Regions from separate parts of the Homo sapiens genome. Here region 1 is linked to region 2. The links are contacts of gene promoters, found by promoter capture Hi-C in human tissues and cell types (Jung and others, 2019). All regions are on one chromosome and are shown on one strand. Each heading gives the region's core, a stretch centred on a gene start or on the middle of the fragment in contact. The rest is flanking DNA. Distances are from core to core; before and after follow the strand shown.

Region 1 (6,244 bases), core at 3,727-6,226, 380 kb after region 2:
ATGTAGTCCATGCCACTAAGGCAATAGAAACAGCTACCATCAAAAATATTGCTGACACTAATCTGTTTTCCTTGTTCTCTTTATTATAAAAAACTGTCAGAAACCGAAACCACCCTTTTGTCATCACTCACATTCATTCTCATACTAATTTGCCTGGACCTTTATCTAGTGGTAATCATAAAGTTGATACTCTAGTTTCTCTAGCCATTGCAGATGCAGAACAATTTCATCAACTCACTCACACTAATGCCTCAAGTCTTAAACATAAATATTGTCTCAGTTGGAAACAGGCTAAACACGTTGTACAACACTGTTCTCAATGTCAGGTTCTTGTCTTACCCACACAATCTTCCTGAGTTAATCCATGAGGCCTTTCTCCTAATATTGTTTGGCAAATGGACGTTACTCATTTTCCTTCTTTTGGAAAATTAGCTTATGTGCATGTCACCGTTGACACCTTTTCCAATTTCATCTGGGCTACCTGTCAAACAAGAGAAGCCACTTCTCACATTAAAAAACATATGTTTTCATGTTTTGTGGTTATGGGAATTCCTAGTGAGCTCAAAACAGACAATGGTCCAGCATATAGCAGTAAAGCTTTTAAAAATTTTCTTGATCAGTGGCATATTAAACATATTACTGGTATTCTTTATAACCCACAAGGTCAAGCTATTATAGAAGGAAGTAACAGAACTTTAAAATTACAATACGTAAACAAAAAGAGGGGGATAAGGAGTTGTCTACGCCTCACATACAACTAAACTTGGCATTGCTCACGTTAAATTTTCTTAATATTCCTAAATCTAGTTCTGTTATTGCTGCCAAAACACATTCCTCTGGTAACCACCCTATGGTAAACCAAGGACAGGAAGTATGGTGGAAAGATGTTCAATCTAATATATGGTTGAAAGTTTCTATTTTAACGTGGGGAAGAGGCTATGCTTGTGTTTCCCCAGGTGAACATCAGTCTCCTGTTTGGATTCCTACTAGACACCTGAAATTGTGTCCTGAAGATGCATGCGACAACGAGACAGAGAAATTTACTGAGAAAACACCACAGCAGGAAACAACTAACACATCCAGTCATCAAAGAAAAAAAAATAACCCCACTAACTCCTTTACAACAGACAATCCAGTCAGCCATCCTGAACAACTCATCTCCAGTGATCCAGGTCTGGCTCAACCTCTGCCTCCTCCTAATGACACTGATCCTTCCACCCTCTGTGACTCCACAAACTGTTAAAAACTATACATATTGAGCCTATATTCCTTTTCCTCCTCTTTTTTTTTTTTTTTTTTTGTTTTTGAGACGGAGTCTTGCTCTGTTGCCCAGGCTGGAGTGCAGTGGCTCAATCTCGGTTCACTGCAAGCTCCGCCTCCCGGGTTCATGCCATTCTCCTGCCTCAGCCTCCCAATTAGCTGGGACTACAGGTGCCCAGCACCACGCCCGGCTAATTTTTGTATTTTTAGTAGAGATGGGGTTTCACCTTGTTAGCCAGGATGGTCTCGATCTCCTGACCTCGTGATCTGCCCACCTCAGCCTCCCAAAGTGCTGGGATTGCAGGGGTGAGCCACACGCCTGGCCTGCTTTTCCTCCTCTTATTCAAGCCATGACATGGATGGATGCTCCTATCGAGGTCTATGTTAATGATAGTATTTGGATGCCTGGTTCTGTAGATGATCGTTGTCCTGCCCTATCTTCAGAAGAAGGAACCCCTTTCAATATTACTTTAGGTTTTAGGTATCCACCTTTGTGCCTAGGACTCACTAATGGATGTCTCTCATTAGATATTCAAACATGGGTGGACACACTACCATCTGGTCACTCTGTCCCTCCTTTGGGACACTTGGTATCAGGACTGTCATTAAAACCTCTAAGGCAGATCAAAATAGGAATCGCTGACTATATTCACACATCCCAAAATAAGCCTTTAGGACCTGCATGTCCTCTGAACTTCTCTTCAAATACTGACAAATTAATATGGAAGGATTGTGTTAGTACAGAAAGAACTGTGTTATTTAATTTTTCTCTCTACACCATTGTTGGTTGGGCTTCTAAAAGTCATATTACTAATGATTGCTCTCAAGGTCACAGAGATTGTCAACATTTTCTCTATGATATTACTTATCAAGAAAGTAGTGACAACTCTCCCCTAGTATATCATAGATTTAACTCCTTTTTTCCTTTTAAGTGGAAAGGGGCAGGGGTTGCCTCTCCAAAGCCAAGGCTCATCGTTCCCCACTTAGGATCTGAACATTCAGAATTATGGAGATTAACCATAGCTATGACTGGTATGAGAGTTTGGGCTGGGGAAAGTGTTATAAGTAAATCCACCTTGTCACCTCAAAAACTAAGACAACAGATTGATTCACATTACTATTCCCACATAGCCAAAAATATCACTATGGCAATCATCAGAAGGTCAATTCAAAGATGGGACAGTAAAGATTATGAGGACTTATACCCCCCTGTTGCTAATGTCCCCCCACCACCTGCCATACAACCTATTCCCCCCACTCCACATTCACAAAAAAGAGTACCATCCCAAAATATATATACTATCTACATGGAGTCTAACAAAACTATACCACTTAAAAGTTGTGTTAAACCACCACATATGTTATTAGTAGGAAAGATGCATATTAGTCCAAAAACCAACATAATTACCTGTGTTGTTAGTTGTATACTTGTATTGACTCATCCTTTAATCAATTATCATAGTATTTTAATAGTCAGAGCCAGAGAAGATATTTGGCTCCCCATAGCTTTACATAGGCCTTGGGAATCTTCCCCTTCTATCCATGTTATTAACAATATTCTACAAAAAATTCTTAAAAGGAGTAAACAATTTATTTTTACATTAATTGCAGTAATAGTGGGCTTGATTGCTGTTACTGCAAATGCTGCTACTGCTGGAGTTGCATTACATCAATCTATTCAAACTGTTCATTTTGTGAATCAATGGCAAAATAATTCTACTTGGATGTGGAATTCTCAGGTATTGATCAAAAATTGGCTAATCAAATTAACGATCTAAGACAAACTGTTATATGGATGGGAGATAGAATTATGAGTTTAGAACATAGATTACAAATGCAATGTGATTGGAATACTTCTGATTTTTGTATAACTCCGTTCCAATATAATGAGTCTGTTCACAATTGGGAATCAGTAAAACGCCATTTACAAGGAAGTGAAGATAATTTAAGTTTAGACGTAAGCAAGCTAAAAGAACAGATTTTTGAGTCATCTCAAGCACACTTAACTGCTTTACCCAGTGCTGAAGTTTTAGACAGTATCTTTGAGGGGTTATTTAATCTCAACCCCATTCAATGGGTAAACTCTTTGGGAGGATCCACTATCATTAATTTTGTTCTGTGTATAATTTGTGCTATTGGTTTATTGTTCATGTGTAAAATTGGAAAAAATATTCTTCAATCCAATTGTGATCAGTGCCAAGCTATGATTGCTATGGTTCATTTAAATCAGAGAAAAGGGGGAGATGTAGGGAGACCCCATGAAACTATCGCTATGGAATAAAAGATGAAATGCTCCTGATTATTGTAAATACAAAATTGCATGGAGGATTGTATAAAGACAATGCCAGGTTGGGCTGCCAAAATAAGCCAACAGCATGTGATGTGCTTCCCCCTGCAGAGAGCCTATAAATGGACATGCAGTCAGGGAGGTTTCACATCACCAAGATTCCTATCCCAGAAAAGCAGATGTTCATATCTCTGGGAATGGAATGTGACCCTTGTGGAGAGCCTATAAACGGATGCATGAGGGGTGCCTGTTCATATGGATAAGATAGGGCTATAAACACCCCATCTTTCCATGGCTCTTCTAGGTCTCTTTAGGGTTGAGACATACTCCCTTCTGAGAATCTGTGGTCTAACCAGTTGTCTAGTTTCACATCCTACTTCTATTGATTGTTTGCAACCAGCTTTTGCTGCAATTATTACTACTGATTAGTATCTTACTAAACATAGGTTATGGATAGACTGTGTTTCCGTTTTAAGGCTCTGTTAGAAATTGCTGATGCACACACTATATTGTAAATTCTTAGCTCTGCATACTGTGCTTCTGCATACTGATGTTATGTTAAAGAATTACTTCATCCCTATGTGACCACCTCACCTCATAATCAAATGACCTTAAATCCCTCACTAACCTACCCCCACCCTCACTAAACTTAATAATAAATGCTGGTATATCCAGTGCATTGGCGGCATCTCAGTGGTGACCCCCTGGACTCAGCTTTCACTAACTTGTGTGTGTCTTTTATTTCTTGACCTCCCGATCCACCTGGGAACAAAGAAAGAGCCCCTTTGTTGCTAGCCAGATCCCGCAATAGGCACGGGGGTTACAAAACTATAAACCAAGTCCAAAAGAGAATGATCTTTACTTGCATAAAATTTAGCGAGTAAGACATTGATTGGTTTAATAAAAATAGCTACATCTTGAATTATTTAGTAAAATTACTGTAACTTCTAGTCTTATGGCTTTAGGCAGCCTAGTCCACAGGCAGTAAGGAGGTTTGTTTTGGGAAGGGAGTGTTATTTTTGTTTCAAAGCTAAACTACAAACTAAATTCCTCCCAAAGTTAGTTGGGCTTATGCCCAGGAATGAGCAAGGACAGCTTGGAAGTTAGAAGCAAGATGGAGACATTTAGGTCATATCTTTCTCATGGTCTCAGTTATAACTTTGCAATGGTGAGTTTCATAACTTTAAATGATGACTGTCACAGATTTCTTAATCTAGGTAAGTGATTAAAATAAAATAATTAGGTAAATGTAATAGAATAAATACTTGTAGATGAGCTCTTCATAATTTAGAATCTAAAGTTATAGTAAATTAAATAATAAATATTTCATTATTTGGGTATTTTCCAATAAAAATATATTGTAGGAAAACCTTTTTTCTAAAAAAGTGTCCTTTTTAAAAACGTGAACAATTTTGTCTAATTTAAAGCTTATTTAAAGGTTATATATAAAACAAGGTAAAAAGAACCAGGAAATAAGAGAGATGTAAAGCAAGTTATAGAAATAAAGAGACATTTTTGAGTAAGAAAGCTTAAAGAGAAATAATTTTATATGAGAAAGAATCTTGTATGGTAAATTTAGTCCTAGAATAAAATGTCTGGTTTTTTAAGAAAGAGAAATGTTCAGGACGAACCAGAAAGTCCAAACATGTCATGAATGGTCTGCGTAAGTCACAATAAGAGGATTTACTAAAACAGACTTTTATGTGATCAAGTTGTCTATTATTAAAGAGAAATTATAATGGTCCTTCTGGAGACTGGGTTTAATATAAAAAAACGCTTATACACTAAAGAATTGGTTAGAGCAATGAAATCTTCTTAAGGGACTGATTTACTCTTAATAAATTATAATAGATTTTAATTTTTTTAACCCAAAGTTCAATTTTTATTGCATCTCACTCTTTTCAGTTTTCTCTCCCCTCTTTAAAAGGCATGAAATAATAACACTTTCCTTCAACTCATTTTCAGCTCATATAAGATTTTTTCCCCCCTAAAGCTCTGTTCATTGTGGCCTGATGCTAATAACGTTTTCTTAAAGGCTAAAGGAAATGTTTTCTTCCAACATAATATTCTGTGCACTGCAGAAGGTCTTTTCTTTTGCCTTTTGCTAACTGGCCCAACAGATTTTACATTTTATTGAAATAATTCTAATGTCATTATTATTAAGTTTTGGTTTGCTTAGAAAAAAGATATTAAAATTTTTTTTAAATTGAGGTTGTTACATCTGTGTATCTTTCTGTATGTGCTTTTAAAGTCCTTGTGACATTGAGTTACAGGGCTTTGACTCTGGGTCTAAAAACAACACCAAGTCCTGTTAAATCTTAAACACTGACAGCAATTAAAGCCTTACTATCAGGCCTGGTAGAAGATGCCAATAAAATAAACTGCATTTCTGAGACACAGGGCCGGAAATTAAAGCTATTCAACTCCTCAAGGCCCAGAGACTATCATGGAAGAGGTGGTCATGTGAGATTTAAAGAACCAATTTTGAGAAATAAAATAAGTTCAGTTTTTCTGTGAATTAACCATTAATGTCAAAGATACAGCAATACAAGACCAGCATATGGGCCCCTGTGTCAGATTAACAAAGTTTTCTTGAAACATTAATGGACTCCTCAATAAAGGTTAAAAGTTTTATGGAAGTTATATCTTATAGTCAAGGTTAAAATTTTATAGATTGTTTATAAAATTTTGGAAAAC
Region 2 (6,821 bases), core at 3,495-5,994:
CCAATACGGCAGGGGCTGAGCCTCATTTGTTTCTGAAAACCTGATATCTGGCTCATAGTAAAAACAAATAATGGCCTGTTAAATGATGAATAAATGAATGAGAAAAGAATGTGCAGTCTTTAGAATGTTTGAAAAATATTGAGGAGAGAGGAAATCTGTGGCAAGAGATCATAAGTCGGCTGACTCTGGGCATGCTGCCTATGAGCTAGCCCTGTTCTGCAAGGGGCAGTTAAAAAAAAAAGAGATCATATCTCAATAGCAAATTTTGCTTAAGCTGCATATTTCACAGACCTAGAGCAGAAGTTAAATCTATTGGAGTCACCAGATTGCTAATTATGGATAGTAAAAATTATAAGCCCGAAATATTTTAAATTAAGCCTTGAATAACATTAAGGTAAGACCAAAGGTGGCAAGCTTCAACCTCAGGGACTTCAAAGGAATGAGAAACATTGAGGTCTTGACAAATGATTTGAGAATGTAAATCCCTGAACTAGCTTTGAACATCATGTTATAGAAGGTGAGAAAGATGGCTGGAGAATCCTGACCAGTCAGACATCTCAAAGGATGGTCAGAATAAAAAGAATAGGAGGTTGAATGGAAGGTCTGCCTTGCCAGGTTTATAATTGATTCCATATGTTACCATCATGAATAGGAATTCTGATTAGTAATGTTCGATATAAATTATCCGATTATTTCCCAGATATTTTACTGTGAACTTGACATTTTTATGAACTTCAATTTTTATAGTCATATAACCCTTAACCTTAAGATATTTTATGAATTTAAACTTATGCTATCCAGGCCAGGCACAGTGGCTCACACCTCTAATCCCAGCACTCTGGAAGGCCGAGGTGCATGGATCACTTGCGGTCAGGAGTTCGAGACCAGCCTGGCCAACATGGTGGAACCCTGTATCTCCTAAAAAATACCACAGTGAGACTGTAATCCCAGCTACTCAGGAGGCTGAGGCATGAGAATGGCTTGAACCTAGGAGGCGAAGGGTGCAGTGAGCTGAGATCACACCACTGCGCTCCAGCCTGGGTGACAGAGCAAGACTCTGTGCTGGGAGCCGAAGGCCCATGGGATGTGACCAACTCAGCATTCCACTGGAGACGATATGATCAAACAGCAAACTGTTTATCATGAATGCAGGATGTGAGCAAACTCACGAGTGCTCCTGCCGACAGAGGGTTTGCTGGAGGCAATCACTCCCTAGCGCTGAGGTTATCTACTGTGACATCTAGAGCCTGTTGTTTGAGGAATGAAGTCTTGCAAGCCTACTCTGGACTAAGCAGCTGACCCCTTCTTCCACCCCCCTTCTCACCATCTCTTTTGCCTAATAAATACAGAGGGCTGTGTACAGCTCAGGGCCTTCGTCCACTAGAGGCAAGGTGCCCCCTGACCCCTTCTTCCAAGTATACTCTTTTGTCTCTTGTCTTTTATTCCCACATTCACCCCTCCTTTGTTCAGTCCACCAGGGATTGTGGCAGGTTACATAGGGGCCCCCCAAACAGCAACAGAATCTGGTGCTCCACAACTCTGTCTCAAAAAAAAAAAAATGCTATCCAACTTGGTAACTACTAGCCACATGTGGCTATCAAGCACATGAAATATTGCTGGTCTGAATTAAGATGTGCTGTAAATGTAAAATATGTGCTGTATTTTAAAGAGTATAAAAAGATAAAATATTTCATTAATAATTTTAGCATATTTTGTATATATTGAAATAAAATATAGTATTGAAATTAAATTCATGTGTTTCATTTCACCTTTTAATATGGGTAGCAGAAAATTTTAAATTACATATGTGGTTTGCATTATATTTCTATTTGATGACACTGGTATAGAGCAATGGTTCCCAACTAAGGATGACTTTGCCCCGAGGGGAAATCTGGCAGCATCTAGAGACATTTTTGCTTGTCACAACTGGAGCTAGTGCTACTGGCATCTAGTGGATGGTGGCCAGGGATGCTGCTAAAAATCCTACAACATATAGGACAGCCCTCCACAACAAACAGTTATCCAACCCCAATGTCAACAGTGCAGAGACCGAGAAACCCTGCTATAGAGAATGGTTAAAGAATGGACTCTACCTGGGCACAGTGGCTCATGCCTGTAATCCCAGCACTTTGAGAGGCTGAGGCAGGAGGATCACTTGAGCCCAGGAGTTCCAGACCAGCCTAGGTAACATAATGAGAACGCATCTCTACAAAAATGTAAAAATTAGGCAGGTATGGTGGTGTGTGCCTGTAGTCCCAGCTACTCAGGAGGCTGAGGTGGGAGGATCTCTTGAGCCTAAGAGGCCAAGGCTGCAGTGAGCCGTGATTGCACCACTGCACTCCAGCCTGGGTGACAGAGCAAGGCTGTCTCTAAAAACGAAACAAAACAAAACAAGAATGGATTCTAGAGTCAGAATGCCCAGTTTAAATACCATTTACTAGCTTTGCAACTTTGGGCAAACTCCCTAACATCTCTTTGATTCATACTCATCTATAAAATGTACCAATAACAGTAACTCCTTCACAGGGCTTGGGGGGATTAAATCAGCTAAGACGTTTAAGGTACTTAGAACAGAGCCTGGCACATAGTATGTGCTCAATAAGTATTAGACGATACGAAAGTTTTATTTACTCTATTTCATAAAAATTTTCTCATTAACTTTGTTATAGCTAACTCTCTACAATTTTGCCAATCTTGTTATAACTAACCTATTTTTATTTTAAAAACTTTTAAAATTTCCTTAAGTCGGGAAAAAGCAATCTTCTATCATGCATAGGTTGTAAATACAAACAGATATTATAGCAGAATCATTATTAAAGCACATCAGAAACACAACCTTCTTTTTTATTTTATTTTATTTTTTTTTGAGACAGGGTCTCTATTGCCCAGACTGGAGTGCAGTGATGGAATCTCAGCCCACCACAACCTCTGCCTCCGGGTTCAGCTATTCTCCTGCCTCAGCCTCCCGAGTAGCTGGGATTACAGTCGCGTGCCACTACCGCGCAGCTAATTTTTGTATTTTTAGTAGAGACGGGGTTTCACCATGTTGGTCAGGCTGGTCGTGAACGCTTCTCATGCAAAGCTCCTCACCCAGGTTTGCCTTAAGCAGGAGGTCCCAGTGTTTCAGCCCAGTAAGTACCTGTGATGTCAAAATGCTGTGATACTTACATATGGAAGCAGAAATCCCAGTCGATGTCATTGCTAACAGTTGGGATACGGATGGGGCTGGCTTGCATCTTCTTCCTACCAAGAATCAGGTAAGGTCAGCTTTGAGAGAAAAGGCTGGGTGTCTGTTCTATTTTCCCCCTCTGGTTTGCTATTAACATTAAACTAAAACTGCTCAAATATATAACCCATCCTAAATCCACAGACTACGCATACTTAGATATGGAGACCGCTGGAAAACAGACATTTGCCAAATTAAATGTCTAAGTTAAATTTCTTTCCCCTAATTTCAACTCCACCCTACTTCTCCAAAATCCCTGGCCTTTATGTCTCAAAGCAAGCACATTTACAGTTCCTGGGTCATCAAAACTATGGTCACCTACTTAACTCAGATATTGTTTTTGCAGGTCTGACGGCGTGTTGGATTTAAGCAAAGCAACCAACTCTCAGTGGTAAACGAAGCACAGCCAGTGTATTGGTTAATTCTGCTTTCCCCCCCCCCCCCGGGGTCATTTCACTAATTAATAGCAGATTCTAGTACAGGGGTCACGAGGCGGGTACAGAGGCTCACGCCTGTAATCCCAGCACTGTGGGAAGCCGAGGCGGGTGGATCACCCGAGTTCAGGAGTTCGAGACCAGCCTGGCCAACAGGGTGAAACCCCGTCTCTACTAAAAATACAAAATATAGTCGGCTGTGGTGGTGCACGCCTGTAGTTCCAGCTACTCGGGAGGCTGAGGCAGGAGAATCGCTTGAACCCGGGAGGCGGAGATCGCGCCACTGCACTCCAGCCTGGGCGACAGAGCGAGACTCCGTCTCAAAATAAAATAAAACAATAAAATGAAATTCATGTGTCTGTTTTAGTTGTTGCTGTTAGATGATAGGAGAAACCTCGGAAGCACAAAACGAAAAATGTGATTTCTAAATACAGTATTTGTGAAATTCAACTCTCAAGGAAGGCTATGCCAGTCGCTTAAATCAAACCCAAATCGAACGCAGTTACTTATTGAATGTTAACATCCACCAAGTCGCCTCTCCTTTCACCCTCCAGAATCACTAATTCCCACCGAGCCCTGAGTGGCTTTCTGACCCAGGCTCCAGAGCATCCATTATCCGAAAATCAGAAAGGGAGAGTCACTAATTTCTCTTTTTAACCTCCACTTTAAACACTATGCCCACAGCAAAGAGTTCTGATCTCTCAAACTCCCGGACTCTGTTCCTATGACGTTCCGCACGGCCCTGAGCCCCTCAAGGACGAATCGCTCCTCTTTTCCCGCTGTGGTTCTGCGGCAAGTCTGTAAGCCCTGACGCCGCAGGTCGAGCTCTGAGAGCCTCTCTGCCGCGGAGGCTCTAAGAGAACGCGCGAGTGCGCAAAGGGCACCTGGCTCAAGGCGGAGAAACCACGCCCCGGAACCAGCCTCCCAGCTCCCTGAGCCCGACGGCGCGGCTTCCTCCCGCTGCGTCGGCCTCCTGACCCTGGCGCACCTCGGTCCGGGCGCCAAAGCGGTGCCTCGCGAAAGCTGCACAGCCTGCGACGTCCCCAGTTACCTTCCGCAGCCCAGGTCCGGCCAAGGAGACAATACCGTTGCCATGGGAACGGAACGCTACGGGTTCTGCTGGGAGCGCCTGTAGCCATGGCGACGCGGGGCACTTCCGGTTCGGAGAGTCCCTGTTGTCTGGCGCCTACAGCAGCCCTTGCCTTACCCTCCGCTTTCCCTTCCCCGCAGGTTAGACGCGCCCGGCCTCCGGCTCGCCCCAAAACTGGCCTCTGCATATTGTATCTCACGAGACCTTACCCCTCGGAGGTGAAGGCGTAGGAAGAGAAGATACATTCCGTCCAAGGATGGAAGGGAGCGCCGGGCCCCACGGCCCTACTTATTTAAAGCTGCGACGTGTGCGGGCTGTATTCGGCGACGATCCTGGCCACGGTGCACCCCCACAGCTCCTCGGGAGTTTTGTTTTTATGGACCCCAGAGGAAAGGCTTAGATATGGCTGTTGACTGTGCTGGCACCGTCTGTGTTACCCAGTAAGATTGGAGCTAGGCATGGTTAGGAAAGCTGATTGCAGGAAGAGAGTAGGGTAAGAAATCGACTACTAGATCTGCTAATGGTTAGCTGTTCATTATTTATTTAGCACTTAGCCCTAAATAATGCAGCCATATCTTACCCTTTCGTTGGCATGGAATACAGTGTGTGTAATACACACAAGGTGCAGAGGCAATTGTGGCCATACCCAAAGAAACAGCGCCAGCTCTTGCAACGCTATGTTGAAGGATGTTATTATGAACCCTATCATAGACTAGGCCTATGGCAAGTCAAGTTGGAGTGAATGTGTCCCAGTTGTTTTCAGAAAAGAGCAGACTAGGTAGAGAGACAAGGAGAACATTGAGAATGTGAAAGATGGTGTTTACGTTTGGTGTTTGTTATTTCCAGCTCTAGGCTGGAAGTTTAATTGCCATTGATCCAAGACTGCCAAGAAAGCCTTTTTGGAGTTAGGTTGGAGGAGTTATTTAAATGAGTTTGCTTGAATATCTCTTAAGTAAAACCTGTATGGTCTGTTAACTCAAGATTTAAATCTGTACTTTCGAGCTCCATAGTCACAATTTTGGAAAGATTCCCCCACTTTATTCTTTTTCCTAAGAAAACTCTCAGCATGGAACAATGATGACAGCAATGAACCTGATTTCAGAATGTCAAGGTTCTGGTTTTGACTCTGTAGCCTGGGCCGAGTCACGGCCAGTGGGTCCCAATTTTCTTGCCTATACGGTGAAAGTTTTTGTACCACTTGCTTTCTGAAGCGCCTTCTGGTTCCAGGTTTCTGTAAGGGGTAAACGATTTTTGTGACTCTATGAACAGTATTTAACATGTATGGGAGTAAAAAGGAAGAACCTGTTTCCTGTTCTCCAACATTTATTTCTTTTACCCCTTGTTAAGTTGGTCATCAAATTGAAAGGTTTTAATGTTCTTTCATTCTAGGAAATGGCTGTGAGATTGTTTCTAAGTATATTAAAGGTAATGTCTCTTTTCTAAACCTTTGCTTTTGCTGATAATTGTGGAGAGAAGAACCAGAACAGGCACTGAATTCCCATTCCTAAAGCCAACGCTCTAATTCGGCCTCCATTTCATTAGCTCTGACCGGAAGCATGTTGCCTGCATCTGTAAAAATTATAAATCAAAATAAAATAACTTTGGCGACTATTTTTTTTCTTTTTTTGAGACAGAGTCTCACTCTGTGGCCCAGGTTGGAGTGCAGTGGTGTGATCTTGGCTCAGTGCAACCTCCGCCTCCCGGGTTCAAGCAATTCTGCTGCCTCAGCCTCCCGAGTAGCTGGGATTACAGATGTGTGCCACTACTGTCTGTCTAGTTTTTGTATTTTTAGTAGAGACAGGGTTTCACTGTGTTGGCCAGGCTAGTCTCGAACTCCTGACCTCAGGTGATCTGCCTGCCTCAGCCTCCCAAAGTGCCGGGATTACAGGTGTGAGCCACCGTCCAGCCAGAACTTTGAGGACTCTTGAAGTTTTTTGGTATTTCTTTCCTTGTCATGTTAACCCTGTCCCCCAAATGTAAGCTTTAGTTGTAGTATATACACTTTTAGGTTTGTTCACTAACTCTAGAATGGCATCCCACTAATCTAAGTGGATAGTGCGTTTCCACCGTG

Evidence for each region. Contacts are between HindIII fragments. The study calls those that stand out against the background at their distance.
Region 1: a contact is called between a fragment that was not itself captured here and the fragment with the promoter of TTC23L in region 2, in 1 of the 25 tissues and cell types used here (aorta).

What each region holds. Positions count from the first base shown.
Region 1 is chr5:34,459,071-34,465,314 of GRCh38, reverse strand. No RefSeq gene overlaps it. Among named protein-coding and RNA genes, the nearest start is that of RAI14-DT, 190 kb to the left of the region's middle. The HindIII fragment of the contact is 4,380 bases long and covers 2,787-6,244 here.
Region 2 is chr5:34,837,087-34,843,907 of GRCh38, reverse strand. It overlaps TTC23L (tetratricopeptide repeat domain 23 like), which reads right to left and starts at 4,744. Exons shown (of 11, transcript NM_144725.4): 1 at 4,649-4,744; 2 at 3,169-3,243. The coding sequence starts at 3,236. TTC23L-AS1 (TTC23L antisense RNA 1) reads left to right here and starts at 4,576. Exons shown (of 2, transcript NR_183259.1): 1 at 4,576-4,725; 2 at 4,891-6,361. It overlaps LOC124900959 (a long non-coding RNA gene), which reads left to right. Exons shown (of 2, transcript XR_007058729.1): 2 at 802-1,750. RefSeq lists an enhancer at 4,345-4,454. The HindIII fragment of the contact is 9,286 bases long and covers 1-6,821 here.